Regions from separate parts of the Homo sapiens genome. Here regions 2, 3 and 4 are each linked to region 1. The links are contacts of gene promoters, found by promoter capture Hi-C in human tissues and cell types (Jung and others, 2019). All regions are on one chromosome and are shown on one strand. The core of a region is centred on a gene start or on the middle of the fragment in contact, and the rest is flanking DNA. Distances in the headings are between cores, read along the strand shown.

Region 1 (3,043 bases), core at 382-2,881:
TGTTGTAAGCAATAAATCAGTGCCTAAACTAAGCTATTGCTACTGTTATTTTTGTTATATATATTTTTAAAGATGTCATTTGGCTTCATGCAATACTTCATTCCATAACATAGATAAGTGTTCCAACGAGCTGAGGCTATTATCTTTTAATGATAAAGATAACAGATGTTAGCTTCTGGGACGGCTAAGAGGCTGATGTGAGCTTTAGAATCCATTTTTGAGTTGGAGAACAAATAACTCTGTTGAAGGGGTTGCAACCTTAAATGACTATAGGAACCAGGCAGGTAACATACATGAGCCCATCTGGTCAGGCAAATGACTGTGTCTTACCTCAAGGGACCACTCTAGGTAATTGGTAACACACATCATTTTGGGTCCAATATTGACAGGTTTGATTTTTCCACAGAAGCTGGAAAACTAGGTTTTTAACATTTAGGCCTTTCAATTATTATTATTATTATTATTTATTTTTTGAGGCGGAGTCTCAGGCTAGGGTACAGTGGCGCCCGCCTCCCGGGTTCAAGCGATTCTCCTGCCTCAGCCTCCCGAGTAGCTGGGATTACAGGCACCCGCCACCACGCTCGGCTAATTTTTGTATTTTTAGTAGAGACGGGGTTTCACCATGTTGACCAGGCTGGTCTGGAACTCCTGACCTCAGGTGATCCGCCTGCCTCGGCCTCCCAAAGCACTGGGATTACAGGTGTAAGCCACCGCGCCTGGCATCAGTCTTTAAATGATAGCAACTAATTCACCTCCTGCTACCCACTCCCAACCCCCAAATACTGTGTGGGCCAAAAACTAAAAATGCATTGTCTGTGAGCCATTTCCTTATTATCCTATAAGGAAAGTCACCATTTCATCTCCAAATAGTTGGGCATTACGAACCCTTCCAAGTGGTTCATGAGGATTTGCTTTTGCCTTGGAAAATGTCAGGGTGAGAACGAACCTTGAGGGTCACAGGGCAGTCTCTGCAGTGTTGTGGTTGCCCAGGACGAAGGTTTTTCTAGCCCACGGCTCCCACTACTGGTCACTGCCCCAGGCCAGACCCTGGCCCTCTCCTCGGAAGACAGAGCAATGCAGCAGCGTTTCCCCTGCAAACTGCCTGCCTGGCTGCTGGGAGGGGGCTGCCAACCTTACTCACTAAGCGTCACAGGAAACTCCGACCTCCATGAGACGAAAACCAAGTATTTACTGAAAGCTTAACGCACGCTAACTCCTTGCTCCTTAGCCAACTGAGAGAAAAATTCGCGAACCCATTCGCAAACGCGGCGCTAACAGCAAACGGGAGGCTGACTCCACCCAGAGGATGGCGAAGCGCTTAAACCGGAGACACCTGAGAAGGAGCCTCCCACAAAACAGACCATGTGGGGAACGGTACCGGGAGCTGGACTGGGGCGCTGAACTACCTGGGCGGGAATCGCCTCGGCGACTGTTCCGCGCGCCTCCGCTTGAGTCAGCCCGGCCGGGAGCTTGACAGCCGGAAGTTCATCGCAAGCCCGGCGACGCCGCGCACGCGCTGTCTCCGTCAGACCTCCGCGCCTGCGCGCGCAGCCAGGAAGTGAGGCCGCGGCGGAGGGGACGGGGCTAGGCCGGGTCGCCGCCTGACGCGACGCGTCCTCACGGGCGCCTACGTCACGGCGTCGAGGCGGAAGATGGTGCACCTCCGGGCCGGCGGTTGCTGAGCTGACCCGGACGGCGAGGGAGCGGGAGCCCGAGCCCGACCACTCCGGCTGCCGCGGGGTGCGGCGCAGCCACCGCCATGTCGCTGCTGCAGTCGGCGCTCGACTTCTTGGCGGGTCCAGGCTCCCTGGGCGGTGCTTCCGGCCGCGACCAGAGTGACTTCGTGGGGCAGACGGTGGAACTGGGCGAGCTGCGGCTGCGGGTGCGGCGGGTCCTGGCCGAAGGTGAGGCCCCGGGTCGGCAGCGCGGGTGCGGCCGCGGAGTGTTGTCTCCGGGACGCTGGGGGCAGCGTCAGCCCGGAGTGGAAGGGCGTGGGTTAGGGCTGGGGAGGGTCCCAGCGGGATCGTGGGTCAGGGTCGGCCAGGGGAGGGTCTCTGCCGAGGGCGTGGGTCAGGGCCAGGCGAAGGTCATAGCGCGGGCGTAGGTGAGTGCCTGCTGGCGGTGATTGCGGAGGGCGAGGCTGGGACCGGGTCGGGGTACTTTCTTGTCATAAGAGTAGGGTCAAGTCGGAGCAAGGCCTGGGGCTTGGGGAACCCCCTCAGGGTGGGTGGGGGAAGATGTTACGGTGAGGTGGGGGATGGTGGCAGGCAGGGAGCTTGGGTGGGGACCCACAGCGGAGACTGAGGGACGGTGCCTAGAAGGCCGACAGCTGGAGTCAGGAGGTGAGCGGTGCAGGAGGTGGGTTTAAGCCTTGGCCTTTTGCCGGACATCTGGGGTTATTGAGCAGGCAGGGACAGGACTGGACTTTGGAGGTTAGGGCTGGTTCTTCTACAGTCCAGGGAACTTGAGAGTTGGTGGGTGCACACGTGTTGCAGGTAGTTGCGGTTGTAGCCTGGGGGGTGGGGGGGTTGGCCGAGGGTAGACTGGGCTGTGTCTCGTGATCCCCCTTCGTCTTTCAACACCTCAGTGTTTCTCTTCCCGGTGAACATCTACTCGTGTGATTCCGTGTGTAGTACAGGAAGCAGAGCCAGTGGTTGTGACCTATATAGAACTTGCAGAGTGGACAGGTCACTCGGCTTAAGTCCTCTTGAGTCAGTCTTGAGTCAGTTTTGTCTCTGCATGCTATTTCTAGCTCCCTGGATGTCCTCTCCGTTCACACGGAATCGATCACCAGTGCCAGTGGGTCCCATTCTCTCTTGTGGATTTTCCTTACATTTTTTGTCCAGTGGTGCCTGGAGGTGTGTCATATTTCACTGGCTGTGAAGTTTATGGGCTAAACACAGTTGACTTGGGTGCGGAAGCGTAACTCTATTCTGCTGTATTGGCACAGGGAGAGGGAGTGAAGCGACACAAAAGCCCTCACCCTCACCAGCTCCCTGGTACCTCTCAGGGCTGGAGGGTTAGCCTGTCCAGGTGCCTGCTC
Region 2 (3,077 bases), core at 1-2,500, 1.3 Mb before region 1:
GGAGGGACCCACCTCAGGCTGTGGGGCTGGCAGAGACTGGGCACCCTGTGGCCTGTAGCCTTGGCTAGGTCTTGGCAGGGATGGGGAACCTCCCGGGCCCAGGCCTGGGTGCCCCAGTGCCTGGCCAGGGGGATGGGGGGACTCCTCTTCCCGCTGTGAGCTCACAGCCCCCCTCGACCCCAGAAACTGGAGGAGCAGGACCGCCGGGCACTGAGCATCAAGGAGCAGCTGCAGCAGGAGCATCGTTTCCTGAAGCGGCGCCTGGAGCAGCTGTCGGTGCAGAGCGTGGAGCGCGTGCGCACAGATAGCACGGGCTCTGCTGTCTCCACGGACGACTCAGAGCAAGGTGGGGCGTGGGGCGCGGGGCAGCCTCACCTGGGCCTCCGGGTGCGCAGTGGTGCAGCTCCCTGGGTGGAGAGGAGGTGCCTGGTGCTGGGGCTGGGGAGAACCCTCCCAGCTCCCTGCTGCACTGGGGTGTGTGTTTGTCACTAAGCGCAGAAGGGACTGGACAGGGAGGGTGGGATGCAGAGGCTGTGTGGCCCGCTGAGGACTGGTGCTTCTGAGGCCGGGTTCTCAGCCAGAGCCCTCCTGGCGTCTGCTGCCCCAGGGCCCAGACAGCGCCCTCCGCACTTCTGCCCCTCTGCCTAGAGCTTCTGCTTCCAGAAAAGGGAGAAATGGGCTGGCACCCTCAGAGTGGCCTGACCCCATCCCCACTCTATTCTCCCTAGAAGTGGACATAGAGGGCATGGAGTTTGGCCCTGGTGAGCTGGACAGTGTTGGCAGCAGCAGTGACGCGGACGACCACTACAGCCTGCAGAGTGGCACCGGCGGCGACAGTGGCTTCGGGCCCCACTGCCGGCGGCTGGGCCGCCCCGCCCTCTCGTAGGCCCGTGCCCTCTGCTCCTTGGCCTGCCTGCCCGCCAGCCACGCGTGTCAGCCCTCCAGTTCTCCTTCAGTTGACGCCAGCCTCTCCACAGGCCCACTGCTGTGCCATTCTGGAAGCTCCAGCTGCTGCTGGGCTGCCTGGCACTGCCCGCTTGCCGGTCAGGGCCTGCCGAGCTGCCTGCCCCTTCCAGCTGGGCAGAGTCCCCTGCAAGGAGGCAGGGCCCAGCTTCCACATCCGGAGCCCTGGTCAGCATAGCCGCCCACGGTCTGTTCTCAGATTCCTAATCATTCCAGAAGTATTAAACGTCATTGCTGCAAACCTCGGCAGGTGCCGTGTGAGGGGCTTAATGACCACCACAGGGAGCTCAGACCCCAACCCTGGATCCCAGGAGAAAGGAGTGGACCGAGGAAGGAAGGAAGGCAAGGCTGTCTGTCCATCCGTCCGTCTGTCCACCTACCTGTCAGTCCACATAGGCTCCTGGCGTGGACAAGGGGTCTGTGAAGGGCGGGAACTGGGTGAGCACCTGGGGCAGGTGGGTGGTTAAGGTCCTTCCCACTTCGCAGGTGTCAGAACCTAGGGCTGGGCTCTCGGGGCCAGGCAGGCCAGCCCAGCCCACGCCGAGCTGGGCAGCGTCTGCTCTGGTAGGACTGTCAGACGCACACGCGCACGCACCTAGACACACCCACTCATGTACATGCTCACACATGCAGACACACCTGGGCGTCCCGAGGTCACATGTTCTGGGGATGATGGCCTTCAGGGGTCATCTGGCAAACAGCCCCTGGGCTGTGCCTGGATCCCCCTCTAGCTCCTGCTCACCCACGCCCACCCAGTAGTCCTGCCTGTCTGCACAGGAGAGGGGCTTCTCTTCCTGGCTGGGGCTGGGGTGAACTGGAGGCTGGTTAAGTTGCAGCCGCTGGGTCCTCGGGGGCTTACTCATCTCCCTTTTTTAAACAAAAAGCAAAAAAGTAAAATGCTGCACTGCCCAGCAGCCCGGTTAGGGCTCCTGGAGCCACCTTAGGAAAGGGCTTCTCATGAGCTCTGCTGCGGCAGCTTCAGCTGGCAGAGAGGCTTTCCCAGAAAAAAAAAAAAAACCATTTTTAAAAAGAAGAAAGCCTAAAGACTCTCGGCCTAGGGACGTCCGTGTGTGCCGCCTCTGTTTCCTGTACCAGATTTTTGTATTCTATTTTCCTAGCTGTTGTTGCGTCCTTGTTTGCTGAGGGGTGGGAGCCACCCAGCGTCTCAGGGACCTGTCCCTCCGTCACGTCGTCAAAGTGTGCCTTGTGTCTTGTGTCAGGCCTTGCCCTTCCCACCAGCATGTCCCTCGTGGCTCAGGGTGCCCCAGGCCTGCCCAGCTAGTGCTGTCCTCCCATCTCCTGTGGGCAGCCCCTCCCGGCAGCCAGGGCTTCCTGGAGGCGATGCAGCCAGGCCCCTGTGGGTGGCACGGAGGGGCTGTGACCTGGTCCCCAGTGTTGCCCTCCCCAGTGGCTGGCAGGGGCCTGCTTGCTCACTAGAGAGATGGATTCTCACCTGTCACCTGACTCGAGCCCCCTGCTTCCTGGCCTAGGCGAGGGTTCCAGGTTTCAGACACTGGCAGCCAATGAAGACTGTGCTCGCTGGGTGGTGCAGGCCTGGCACCAGGAGGCTTGCACCCGCCTTTCCTTCCTGACGTCCTCTGTCCTTGGGGCTGGCCCATAGCAGTGCCTGCCGTGCCTCTGGTACATCTGTAGCCAATTCCCATATCATGGGGAAAATTCGTGTCTATTTTCAGTCGTACGCATAGACGCCCCAGGATGGGGGGCCCACTGTGGCGGAAGGGGGTCCCTGGAAACAACTCTGGCACAGAACCTGCCCTGCAGGCTGTAGGGGGCATGGTGCCTGGAGCTGAGGGGCATCCGAACGCGTTGCGGGTGGTTGTGAGGAGGCCTGTCTGCATCTCCTTCCGGCCCCACTGGGGTCCAGGGGTGCCCAGAAAGGAGCTTCCCCTGCCTGCCTGAGTCTGTCCCCCCAGGCTTCATTTCAAACACCGTGGCACCTCCGAGCAAGGCGGGCCGTGTGTAAAAGCTTGCTTCCCCAGCCAGCACTGCAGGGCCCTGAGGTGGTCGTGTCCCTGCCCTCAATTCTTGAAGCACCAGCTCCCTGCCCCACCCTCCAGTGCCTGAGGCAGCTAGGGGCTTCTGCTCTCATCTCT
Region 3 (3,209 bases), core at 541-3,040, 1.0 Mb before region 1:
CTACTAAAAATACAAAAAAATTAGCTGGACATGGTGGCACGCACCTGTAATCCCAGCTACTCGGGAGTCTGAGGCAGGAGAATCACTTGAATCGAGGAGGCGGAGGTTGCAGTGAGTGAAGATTGCACCACTGCACTCCAGCCTGGGTGACGAAGTGAGACTCCCTCTCAAAAAAAAAAAAAATTAGGTGACCAGAGCAAATGTTAAGTGCAGGCTTCCTGGTAACTACAAACCTTAGTGACTACAGGTGAATCTGACCTAGCTTACTGCTGAACACTTGATCACTCAACAACCTCACCTATGGCAGGTGCCCCAGAAGAATGTTCTGTGGGCCAGAAAAATGGCGCAGGGCCTGCCTGCTCCTCTCAACTACAAATACAAGTTTAAAGAAATAAGGTAAATGATATGGTGTCCACATATTTACACCTTAGCAATATGTGAGATGTATTTTCCATTCTTTGAAATAAAAAGAGCATTTTAACTCAGATCAGTGAAAAACAGGATGAAGCTTTACTCAAAATCACAAATATACAACTACTCTGTCAGAACTTTTTTTTTTTTTTTTTTTTTTGAGATGGAGTCTCCTTCTGTCACCCAGGCTGGAGTGCAGTGGCGCAATCTCAGCTCACTGCAACCTCCGCCTCCCAGGTTCAAGTGATTCTCCTGCCTCATCCCGAGTAGCTGAGATTACAGGCATGCACCACCACACCCGACTAATTTTTGTATTATTAGTAGAGATGGGGTTTCACCATGTTGGCCAGACTGGTCTTGATCTCCTGACCTCAGGTGATCCACCTGCCTCAGCCTCCCAAAGTGCTGGGATTACAGGTGTGAGCTACCACACCCGGCCAGAACTATTATCGAATAAAATAGAAATTCAAACAAAGTACAAAGTCTAATTAAAGTCTCAGTTCATGAAAAAGTTAACCGGACATCTGAGACAGTTGAAATGAATGGCACCACTTCATACACTAGGAAAAGGGCTCACGTCTTCTACATGCATGGGCACCATACGCTAGACAGAATAACCCGGTGTTTCCTTGGTTGGTTTCACTCCCCTGCAGGTACCAGGCAAACTCTGTCCCTGGACACATGCTGGCAGTAAGCGAGGAGCACAAGGACCCGGGGCTGGCTTTGTATCTATGCTGCACTTTTCCTGCACAGCCTGTTTAGTATTCCCATTCAGTAAACAATAACATGAATTACTAATAAACTAAATAAAATCTAGGTTCATTGCCTTTAATGAACTGTTGACTTTTTATTGACATGTAACACATATCTCTAATGGACTTTGATGCCAGTTCATTACTTACATCCTGAATAATAAGCCCTATAGAGAGGTTATGGTGTTTGGGGGTTTTTTTGTTTGTTTTTTTTTGAGACAGAATCTTGCTGTGTCGCCCAGGCTGGAGTGCAGTGGCATGATCTCAGCTCACAGCAACCTCTGCCTGTCAGGTTCAAGCAATTCTCCTGCCTCAGCCTCTTGAGTAGCTGGGATTACAGGTGCACGCCACCATGCCCAGCTAATTTTTTGTATTTTTAGTAGAGACGGGGTATTACCATCTTGGCCAGGCTGGTCTCGAACTCCTGACCTCAAGCAATCCACCTGCCTCGGCCTCCCAAAGTGCTGGGATTAGAGACGTAAGCCACCACACCCGGCCAAAGAGGTTATTTTTAGTGACAATTTTGTCCAATCTAAAAAACAAGTATTACTCAAAGCATTTGGATGTCTGTTTTCTTGCAGAGCAACACACCATCGGTTTCTGTGATAACACCCCTGGAGGGTAAGAACCTGCAAGCAGCCTTTCTCAATGGGGTTCTGTAAGAAATGCAAGCCTTCTGCTGAATACCAGCCTGGAAGGAGCTGGGTGCACTGACACCTGCATCTCATGTGTGCTCCCATGCAGGGAAACAGTGGCACCAAGAGTCACAGAGCATACACTCTGACAGGTCAAGCAAACCTGGAACACAATTACCTTCCGAAGACTGTGCTTGTCCGTCCTGAGTCTTTTCCTGGGTGTGTCCTCAGCTTCAGCATCTTCTGTAGGGTCCTGTATCCTCTTTGTGTGGTTTCTTTTTTTCCCATTTACATTACCTTGGAATGGGGAATGGGGAAAATGTACATGAAAACCACTCCAAAAGCTGCATTTGAAGCACTGTGAGAACCTACCCAGGGCATTCAACATACAGATCCAGCCCATGATGGGTTTCCTGTAACCCTGCTGATTTCCAGGGCTTATGTCTTACAGATCAAATCTCTTTACAACAAAAAAACTGGTGACTATATCTAACCTTAGGGATTATATTAGCATCTGTTTTATCTGTTTTTTATATATATATATATATATATATATATATATTTTTTTTTTTTTTTTTTTTTTTTTTTTTTTTAAGATGGAGTCTCGCTCTGTCACCCAGGCTGGAGGGCAGTGGCACAATCTCAGCTCACTGCAACCTCCGCCTCGTGGGTTCAAGCCATCCTCCTGCCTCAGCCTCCTGAGTAGCTGGGATTACAGGCACGTGCCACCACGCCCAGCTAATTTTTATATTTTTAGTAAAGATGGGTTTTCACCATGTTGGTCAGGCTGGTCTCGAACTCCTGTCCTCGTGATCCGCCTGCCTCGGCCTCCCAAAGTGCTGGGATTACAGGCGTGAGCCACCGCGCCTGGCCTTATAATTATAATTTAATGTATTAAAGCATTAAATTTAAATATAACCCAGTATTTTATCTATTTATTTATTTTTGAGATGGAGTTTCGCTCTTGTAGCTCAGGCTGGAGTGTAATGGCACAATCTCAGCTCACTGCAACCTCTGCCTCCTGATAGCCCAGTATTTTAAAAAAATCTTTTCCTAGGCCGGGCATGGTGGCTCATGCCTGTAATCCCAATACTTTGGGAGGCTGAGGTGGGCGGATCACCTGAGGTCGGGAGTTTGAGACCAGCCTGACCAACATGGAGGAACCCCATCTCTACTAAAAATACAAAATTAGCCAGGCATGGTGGCACATGTCTGTAATCTCAGCTACACAGGAGGCTGAGGCAGAAGAATCGCTTGAACCCAGGAGGTGGAGGTTGCAGTGAGCCGAGATTGTGCCATTGCACTCCAGCCTGGGCAACAAGAACGAAACTCTGTCTAAAAAAAAAACGAAAAACAAAAAAAAAATCTTTTCCTTACTAACATTCAAAGACTTGTGGAATTTAAGTTGAAC
Region 4 (2,960 bases), core at 231-2,730, 1.0 Mb before region 1:
AGCTCACAGTGGAGTTCCGCATTACCTTGTCTATAGTGAGCATGTAGAAGTGGGTGATGTCGTTCTCGTGTGCGTGCTTGATTCTCGCCATGCACTCCTCCTCGTCGATCAGCTCCCCAACGTACTCGTTAACAAATTCTCCCTGGAAATCACAAGCATGTGGCCATGACAAAAAGCGTGCTGACCAATCCTCAGTGTCGGGGCTCAAGACTCCCCATCATGATCACTTAGAACGGGCACCACACACATCAGCATACCTCCGTGGAGGGCGTGTACAAAGTCTCCATAAATTAAATTCAAAGGATCTCAGACATATCTGTATGTAAAGGTTGCCAATGAAAAATGTATTAAGTATTCACGAAGTGGCAATATGCCAACCCTTGCTTCCTACACGACCTTGTCTCAGGAGCGCTGTCTGATAACCAAGCTTCTACATAACCCACTTTACACGGTGATCCCCACAACAGAGAAAATGGCTACAAAGTATCTGACAGGATGTAAAGCAAGAGTCTGGGTGAATCAGCAGTCAGGCAGGCGAGGAACAAGGGTGCTGGGGAGGTGTTTCTAAGCAACCTTTTGTGCTGTTGCTGGAACTGGCACCAGGCTTATGAACTCTCTGTGCTGGGTCAGCCCTGGTATGGACCTGGGTCATGCCAAAATACATCAGGGTCAGCAGTTCTACATGTCTCTCAGTCCCTGGATGTCCTTGGGACACAGTCTGGGAGCAGAGGCAGGAGGTCAACTGTCCTGGTGTCTACCAACGACTTGGTCCTAGACTGTGCCAGGACCACCCCTCACAAGAGCAATCTCCTTACGCCTGCTGGTGAGTGCTCCCAAGCACCTGGCTACTAGCCCAGAGGAAAGTGGGTCACTTCACAGATCTTCCATTTCATAAAAATAACCATCAGAATTCTGACATAAGGCATGTTTTAAGGGAATGTGTGAGTTATAGCAGATACCTTTCATGTAACATTTTAAAATATTCAATTGTAATAATTCAATTCAAAAAAATATTTCAGGTCAGGCACAGAGGCTCTTGCCTAAAATCCCATTGCTTTGGGAGGCCTAGGCAGGAGGATGGTTTGGGGCCAGGAGTTCGAAATGAGCCTGGGCAACACAGCAAGACCCCATCTCCAAAAAAAAATAAAATTATTAGGGCATGGTCAAACACGCCTGTAGTCCCAGCTGCTTGGGAAGCTAAGGTGGGAGGATGGCTTGAGCCCAGGATTCTGAGGCTGCAGTGAACTACAATCATGCCACTGCCCTCCAGCCTAGATGACAGAGTGAGACCCTGTCTCAAAACAAAAACAAAAAAAATTTTTTTTCCAAAAAATACCATTCTCACATGACTACAAAACCACCACAAGCAAACCTAGGCCTAATTACCCAGTGAACCGTAATTTCTCAAAAGCAGGGGAGGGGATAACGACACATACCTTTCTGATGTCCCTCTTGGCGACCAGGCCCCACCCTTTGCCATCTGTCTTGATGATCTTGGTCTCTGGGTACTGGCGCTTGGTGAAGCACTGGTTCTGGCAGAACTCGCCCGCGGGACACACCTGCGGGTGGCACTCAAACATCAGCATCCTGTTCAGACACTCCGAATCAAAGCCACAAGGATTCTCATCTGTGGGCTTGCAGTTGCACTTAGGGATTTCTGAAATATCCGCTGTGTAGATCTGGACTTTCCCGTAAGGCTTATTCACCTGCAGGGAAGGAGTAAGCTGTCTTGGTCCACACATGAGAGCCTTCCGAATACCCTTGCACACCCACCACTGCCTCTCCTTACCCAGCCTCCAGGTGGCCTTTTAGAAAGCTTCAGAGTCCTGGCTAGGACACACTACTCAGAACAGCCCTCCCCAGATCCCAGAGGAGCTCTCCTCTGCCTTCTTAGCACAAGAGGCAGGCAGGGCAACACAACGCCCCCTCACATTATTTTATCTTAGTGTCTGTGCACATCGCTGATGAACAAGAGCTGACACGTATCCAGCCAGGCCATTGTAAGATGAAGAGAGAAAAAGCGTGTTGATTGCTTAGTACACTGCAGGGTGTCCAGCAAACGCTGGTAAGAGCTCTTCTGAGCAGCTTCCCGACCCATCTCTCTGACTCTTCCTTTACCAAGCACCAGCAGCAAGCCACATGGGAGTCCACCCCAGGAGGAGCAGTGCTAGGCAGGAGGGCATAGCCTCTGCTCTCATGACCTTGTGGTTTACTATTAGTGAAAGACAAGCAACCAAATAACAAAGCAGTAGAGACAGCTGAAAATCAGCTGGGGTAGAAATGCATAATCTTAGGGAAGAGGTGGCGAAAGACACTCTTTTCACTGCTGTGGTATGACAAACTGTACATTTTGGAGAACAATCTGGGAATATTCCCCAAGAATCTAAACATTTCATACTCTCTGACCCTGTGATTCTGTTTCTGGGAATCCATCCCAAAGAAAATATTATATAAAGATGAATACAGAGCACTTTCTTTACATACAAAGATATTGACTGCAGCCCACATTTTACAAGCAAAGGCAGAGCACCTGACCTCCGGCACACACTTATCACAAACACTCGTCAGGAACGGCCACGAGGCTCCTGGGGATGCGGCTTGCCGCACCAGCTCTGAGCGCAGGCAGCCCTGAGGGGCCTGGAGCTCTCACAGAGCCCTGCCCTGGCTGCACTTCCTCCTGCTGGGGCTCTCGAGCTCACTGGAATAAACACAGAACTGGCAAGCTCCCCTGCCGCCCCGCCATCTTGCTCTCTGAGGTACAGGATCTACGTGTTTGGGGCTCAGTCACTGAGCCCTGGCCGTATGTGACTGACTCCCAGCACTTGGCAACAGCCTGGTGCAGGTGGGAGGCTCATCCCTCAGCTCCTCCTGCTCCAAGCAGCCCGGTCAGGACTGTCACCCCAACCCTTCTCTAAGCTACCAAGCCAAGCCTCACACTCCAAGGCGGATCCAAGAACCCC

The links. Contacts are between HindIII fragments. The study calls those that stand out against the background at their distance.
Region 2: a fragment that was not itself captured here is called in contact with the fragment with the promoter of GAK in region 1 in 1 of the 25 tissues and cell types used here (spleen).
Region 3: a contact is called between a fragment that was not itself captured here and the fragment with the promoter of GAK in region 1, in 1 of the 25 tissues and cell types used here (spleen).
Region 4: a contact is called between a fragment that was not itself captured here and the fragment with the promoter of GAK in region 1, in 1 of the 25 tissues and cell types used here (dorsolateral prefrontal cortex).

Annotation. Positions count from the first base shown.
Region 1 is chr4:930,904-933,946 of GRCh38, reverse strand. GAK (cyclin G associated kinase) reads left to right here and starts at 1,631. Exons shown (of 28, transcript NM_005255.4): 1 at 1,631-1,904. The coding sequence starts at 1,760. TMEM175 (transmembrane protein 175) reads right to left here and starts at 1,487. Exons shown (of 11, transcript NM_032326.4): 1 at 1,407-1,487. RefSeq lists an enhancer at 1,046-1,365 and a silencer at 1,526-1,845. The HindIII fragment of the contact is 8,506 bases long and covers 1-3,043 here.
Region 2 is chr4:2,248,353-2,251,429 of GRCh38, reverse strand. MXD4 (MAX dimerization protein 4) reads left to right here. Exons shown (of 6, transcript NM_006454.3): 5 at 184-346; 6 at 729-3,077. The coding sequence ends at 886. MIR4800 (microRNA 4800) reads left to right here and starts at 1,274; the gene lies at 1,274-1,353. The HindIII fragment of the contact is 7,274 bases long and covers 1-3,077 here.
Region 3 is chr4:1,934,030-1,937,238 of GRCh38, reverse strand. NSD2 (nuclear receptor binding SET domain protein 2) reads right to left here. Exons shown (of 22, transcript NM_001042424.3): 7 at 1,977-2,095. Among named protein-coding and RNA genes, the nearest start is that of MIR943, 51 kb to the left of the region's middle. The HindIII fragment of the contact is 3,686 bases long and covers 1-3,209 here.
Region 4 is chr4:1,958,217-1,961,176 of GRCh38, reverse strand. It overlaps NSD2 (nuclear receptor binding SET domain protein 2), which reads right to left. Exons shown (of 22, transcript NM_001042424.3): 17 at 1,437-1,706; 18 at 26-142. Among named protein-coding and RNA genes, the nearest start is that of MIR943, 27 kb to the left of the region's middle. The HindIII fragment of the contact is 4,522 bases long and covers 1-2,960 here.